2 separate regions of the Homo sapiens genome follow, and region 1 is linked to region 2. Evidence: promoter capture Hi-C in 16 types of primary human blood cells and fetal thymus (Javierre and others, 2016). All regions are on one chromosome and are shown on one strand. The core of a region is centred on a gene start or on the middle of the fragment in contact, and the rest is flanking DNA. Distances in the headings are between cores, read along the strand shown.

The links. The method cuts DNA at HindIII sites, captures the fragments that hold promoters and counts their contacts. A CHiCAGO score of 5 or more calls a contact.
Region 1: a fragment that was not itself captured here is called in contact with the fragment with the promoter of HORMAD1 in region 2 in 5 of 17 cell types (endothelial precursors, M1 macrophages, M2 macrophages and 2 more); the score reaches 6.8 in endothelial precursors.

What each region holds. Positions count from the first base shown.
Region 1 is chr1:150,817,658-150,820,876 of GRCh38, reverse strand. It overlaps ARNT (aryl hydrocarbon receptor nuclear translocator), which reads left to right. Exons shown (of 22, transcript NM_001668.4): 15 at 2,847-2,957. Among named protein-coding and RNA genes, the nearest start is that of CTSK, 11 kb to the right of the region's middle. The HindIII fragment of the contact is 4,466 bases long and covers 1-3,219 here.
Region 2 is chr1:150,719,462-150,722,350 of GRCh38, reverse strand. HORMAD1 (HORMA domain containing 1) reads left to right here and starts at 1,456. Exons shown (of 15, transcript NM_032132.5): 1 at 1,456-1,547; 2 at 2,813-2,878. The coding sequence starts at 2,846. The HindIII fragment of the contact is 2,080 bases long and covers 716-2,795 here.

The DNA.
Region 1 (3,219 bases), core at 720-3,219, 98 kb before region 2:
ATCAGTTGTATTTCATAATATCACATAGGCATTTTCCAATGTTGGGATTTCTAATGTACCAACTCTTCTTAGTCTTATCAAGCTATCCCTTTCTCCTCTACTTTTCTAGTATTAAACACCATTAGTTTGAAGTTCTTCATTTTCCAGCTTATAGGATTTGGGATAGTTGATCAGAGTAGAGTAAGGTTTTTTTGTTTTGTTTTGTTTTGTTTTGTTTTTTCAGACAGGGTCTCGCTCTGGCACCCAGGCTGGAATGCAGTGGTGTGATCATGGCTCACTGCAGCTTGAACCTCCCAGGCTCAAGTGATCCTCCCACCTCAGTCCCCTGAGTAGCTGGGACTACAGACATCTACCAAGACGCCTGGCTAATTTTTGTATTTTTTGTAGAGATGGGATTTTTCCATGTTGCAGAGTCTGGTCTTAAACTCCTGGGCACAAGCAGTCCATCGTCCTCCCAAAGTGCTAGGATCACAGGCGTAAGCCACTGCACCTGGCCAGAGTAAGATTTTACAAACAATAATTCAGAGACTAGGTCCTGAGATGGAAGGGTTTAGTTTCAATTCTATGTATCAACTCTTTCTGGAAAGGACTATGTTTTGTACACCAGTTTATTGCTCTAGTCTGGCAGGATTTTCCTCTGGAGCAGGGGTAGGCAAGCTCTTTCTATAAGTGGGGCTAGATAGTAAATATTTTAGGCTTTGTGGGCCATGTGGTCTTTATTCCACCTACTCAACTCTGCTGTAGCATGAAAACAGTCATAGACAAATGAAAGAATGGGGCTGTGTTCCAGTAAATCTTTATTTAGAAAAACAGGCAGTGGGCCTGATTTGGTCAGTTTTCTTTAGAGCATAGCTACATCCTCCTCTTTCATTAGTTACTGTTCCTCTCTTTTGCACTTTTCTATTTGAGTTTTCTTTCTCAGTTTCTTTTTTAAAAAGTTTTATGAGATATATTTCACATACCATATACCTCACTCATTTAAAGTATACAGTGTTTTTTAGTATATCACATAGTTATGTAACTCTTACTGCAGTCTAATTTCAGAATATTTTCATTCCCCCAAAAGAAATTCTAGATCAGTTAACAGTCATTCCCTGTTCTTTCCCCCGGCTCTGAAATTCTGTATAACTATGAATCTGTTGTCTTTATAAATTTGTCTATTCTAGACTTTTCGTATAAATGGAATCATAGACTTTGTAATTCCTTTGTAACTGGCCTATTTTACTTAGTATAATGTTTACAGAGGTTATCTGTACTGATACATGTTGTAGCATGTATCAGTACTTCATTTCTTTTTATTGCCAAATAAGATTTCATTGTATGGATATACCACATACTGTCTGTATGTTCGTTAATGGACATTTGGTTGTTTCTACTTCTTGGTTATCAAAAATGCTTCCATATGTAAAATAGGGATAAGGAACTGAAAAAATGCTTTCATGAATATTTGTTTACTAGTTTTTATGTGGATATATGTTTTTATTCTCTTGAATTCCACCCAGGAGTGGAATTGCTGGCCACATAGTAACTCTGTTTTACCTTTTGAGGAACTGCCAAACTGTTTTCCAAAGCTGCCCCATCATTTTGCATTCCCAGGAGCTCTGATTCCTCCACATCCTTGTTAACACTTGTTATTGCCTTTTTTTTTTTATTGTAGCCATCTAGTAGGTATCAATTGTCAGGTTACCACCTTGCCATTTAATCTTTTCTTTCTGTAGAATTGGCCTTGAATCCACCTCTTGAAGATCAGATTATGACTACTTAGCAAATATGAATAATACCTAGTGACAAGTTTTGTCCAATTCAGTCTTTAGAACTTGTAAAGTTTAATTCTTTGCTAACTAACTTAGTATAACAGAGTGGATTGAGTTAGAAATTTTTATTAACTTAGGACTCAAGTGGATGGTCATGGTCATTGTAGTTCTTTATTTTTGTCTCTTTGCATCTTTATATTACACAACAGCCTTCATTTTTGTGTTTCCATTTTGTTTAAATTTTTAAAAATTTAAGTTGTTTGAAGGACTCGAGTTTCTGGAAATAATTGCTTTCTCCATGTTTATGTATCATTTTCCCTACCATGATTAATTTTAATTAGCTTTTAGGGATTTGTTTGTTTGTTTGTTTCATTGAGACAGTGTCTCACTCTGTCACCCAGGCTGGAGTGCGGTGGCGCTATCTCAGCTCACTGCAACCTCCGCCTCCCAGGCTCAAGCAATCCTCCCATCTGTCTCCTGAGTATCTGGGACTACAGGAGCCCGCCACCACGCCTGCTAATTTTTGTATTTTTTGTAGAGACGGAGCTTCACCATGTTGCCCAGGCTGGTCTCAAACTCCTGAGCTCAAGCAATCCACCCTGCCTCAGCCTCCCAAAGTGCCAGGATTACAGGTGTAAGCCACCGTGCCTGGCCAGTATTTTATTTTTAAATAAATATTCTTTATAGAAAATGTGGAAAGTATTGAAAAATACAAAGAGAAGGAATAAAATTCTCACACTCCAGATAGTCTTTGTTGATGTACAGTGTATGTACTTTCATTTTTTTACCTATGCTTTTAAAAAATACCTTATATGAATATATACACACATTCACAATAACCAGGTTTTGAATACCTAGAAGGAGTTAGAACCCAACAAGATGACCCCTGTGTCATAGAACATGGTTTCTGTTTGCTGAAACTGACACCCTAGATTAACTATAGGATAGGACTTTAATGAAGGATTTATTGATTGTTCCACCTACAGATGAATCTATAGAGCTTTACATACAGAATCTTATTCTTCTCTTTCTCTCTCTCTCCCCCCTTCCTCCCTCTCCACCCCCTCTTTACTGTCTACTCTGGTTTCCTAGGAACTCTAGCCAAGAACCACGGCCTACACTCTCCAACACAATCCAGAGGCCACAACTAGGTCCCACAGCTAATTTACCCCTGGAGATGGGCTCAGGACAGCTGGCACCCAGGTAAAAAAGGGTGAAATAATCATCTGTTGAGCAGTCACCCAGGGGGTGGTCATTTGCAATCCCATATATTTTTTGTTCGGTTGGTTAATTTTTTTTTTTTTTTTTTGAGAAGGAGTTTTGCTCTCATTGCTCAGGCTGGATGGAATACAATGGCACGATCTAGGCTCACTGTGACCTCTGTCTCCTGGGTTCAAGTGATTCACCTGCCTCAGCCTCCCAAATAGCTGGGATTACAGGTGCCTGCCACCACCCCCGGCTAATT
Region 2 (2,889 bases), core at 207-2,706:
AACACGGTGAAACCCTGTCTCTACTAAAAATACAAAAAAATTAGCCGGGTGTGGTGGCGGGCGCCTGTAGTCCCAGCTACTTGGGAGGCTGAGGCAGGAGAATGGTGTGAACCCAGGAGGTGGAGCTTGCAGTGAGCCGAGATCGCACCACTGCACTCCAGCCTGGGCGACAGACAGAGCAAGACTCCGTCTCAAAAAAAAAAATTTATATATATATATTAAGATATTAATAGTGTAACCATAATTTTTTTTTTTTGAAACAAGTCTCACTGCCGCCTAGGCAGGAGTGCAGTGGCTCAAACAGGGCTCACTGCCACTGCAAACTCCTGGGCTCAAGGGATCCTCCTGCCTAAGCCTCCTGAGTAGCTGAGACTACAGGTGTGTGCCACAACCTCTGCCTAATTTTTTTTATTTTTTGTAGAGACAGGGTCTCACTTTGTTGCCCAAGCTGATCCCCAATTTCTGGCCTCAAGCAATTGTTCCGCCTCAGCCTCCCAAAGTGCTGGGATTATTGGCATGAGCCACCACATCTAGCCAACATAACTTTTATACACATGGAAAACTAAAAAATTGTGTAATTTGCTTTATTATGTTGTTTGCTTTATTGGAGGGTCTGGAACTGAACTTGCAATATCTCCAAGGTATGCCTGTAATTGAATGTTTACACTGGTAAGAAATGTATTTGGATATATAATAATCTGTAAACTAAGAAGCTTGTACTACTGAATAATCTCCAACTATTAATACCTACCCACTCTGATTTTATTTTGTTTCTAAATGAGACAAATTACATTCAAAGCTATCCATTGTCCCCAATGACATAACACAGTGGAAGTGGCTAAGTAGAAGACTGCTAAAGCAAATGGTTTCCTGAAGATACAGGAGATTGGAAGGTGGGAATGCAATTTGTGGTAGTTCCAATGAGAAAATCAAAAGTCAGCCGGGTGTGGTGGCTCACGCCTGTAATCCCAGCACTTTGGGAGGCCGAGGGAGGCAGGTCACCTGAGGTCGGGAGTTTGAGACCAGCTTGGCCAACATGGCAAAACCCCGTCTCTACTAAAAATACAAAAATTAGCTGGGCATGGTGGCGGACGCCTGTAATCCCAGCTACTTGGGAGGCTGAGGCAGGAGAATTGCTTGAACCCTGGAGGCAGAGGTTGCAGTGAGCCAAGATCATGCCACTGCACTTCAGCCTGGACGACAAGAGCAAAACTCCGTCTCAAAAAAAAAAAAAAAAAAAAAAGAAAGAAAATCAAAAGTCAGAAAAACAATCAGAAATTCAGTAACTGCACATGCAGTTACTTAACCTTCCCCCTTCTGTCTGGCTTTTCCACTGCCTGAGACGTGGCGCTGAGGCTTCCCGTGTCTGAGGCTCCCAGTGCGCCTTGCGCTGCGCTTGGCGGGAAAGGTGACCTCGACCAGGGGTCAAAAAGCCACTGTCGCGCCCCAGCGGGTGACCGTTGAAGGAAAGCGCATGCGCGTCGGGCACAGCGCGTGCAGCCTCGTGCAGCTCTTCTGGTCTCCGGCGCCCGCCCCTCAGACGTAATGTAATATATATTAGTGTGTATATATCTGTGTGTGTGTGCGTATATTTTACTTTTTAATCTCTTTGTCTGTCAGCTTCCCCCTACTTTTAAGTTTCTTAAGGTCTTAGTGGTAAAACATTTGCGGTAAAAATGTATACCCACTTACTTGTCAACAGAGGTTCTTGAGATGGGGTGAGTACGGACGGCGAATTCAGGATTTGTCAGGATAAATTTAAACGTTTAACGTAAATAGGTTCTTCTATGAAGTTTGCCTCTTTAGTAAACTCTTCCAGCTGAATTGTCTGATTAAGAAAAGTGAAACTGGGGCCGGACACAGTGGTTCCGGACACACAACTTCCTGTAATCCCAGCAAGTTGGGCGGCTGAGGCCGGAGGATCATTTGAGACCAGCCTGACCAACATGGCGAAACCCCGTCTCCACTAAAAATAGAAAAAAAAATTAGCGGCCGGGCACGGTGCTTCACGCCTATAATCCCAACACCTTGGGGGCCGAGGCGGGCGGATCACGAGGTCAGGAGTTTCCTGGCCAACATGGTGAAACCCCGTGTCTACTAGAAATACAAAAATTAGCTGGGCGTGGTGGCACGCCTGGAGTCCCAGCTACTCAGGAGGCTCAGGCAGGAGAATCACTTGAACCCAGAGGGGGAGGTTGCGGTGAGCCGAGATCGCGCCATTACACTCCAGCCTGGGCAACAGAGAGAGACACCGTCTCGAAAAAAAAAATTGTATATATATATATGGTGGGCACCTGTGGTCCCAGCTACTCGGGAGGCTGAGGCAGGAGAATCGCTTGAACCCGGGAGGCGGAGCTTGCAGTGAGCTGAGATCGCGCCACTGCACTCCAGCCTGGCGACAGAGCGAAACTCCGTCTCAAAAAAATGAAAAATAAAAACAAATAAAACTGAAAAAGTTTAGAGGGTTTGCCAGGCAATTTTTCATTACTGAATACCTACCTGTACAATGTTGTCATTGTTTGAATTTGTATAGGGAATAAAAATAGGAAGATTGTGCCTTTTTAAAAAGTTCTCTTAAACAGTTTCTTAATAACCCATTTGTTTGAGACTTGCTAGTCAAATGGCTTCAAATCAGGACCCTACTCAAAATGGTTCTACTGCAATATCGACCTCTACGTTTTTGAAGACTCTATTTTAATTAAAGAAATTCAAATTTATTCACATAAAATTGTTTTGAATTTTATATGTGGTAAACTGAAATGTTAGAGGAAAAAAATGAGCTCTAAGTTAAAGCTTGTATTTGTGTCACAAGGTTGAATTAAAGAAAATACTTTATCAGAAGAAGATGGCCACTGCCCAGTTGCAGAGGACTCCCATGGTATGATTTCT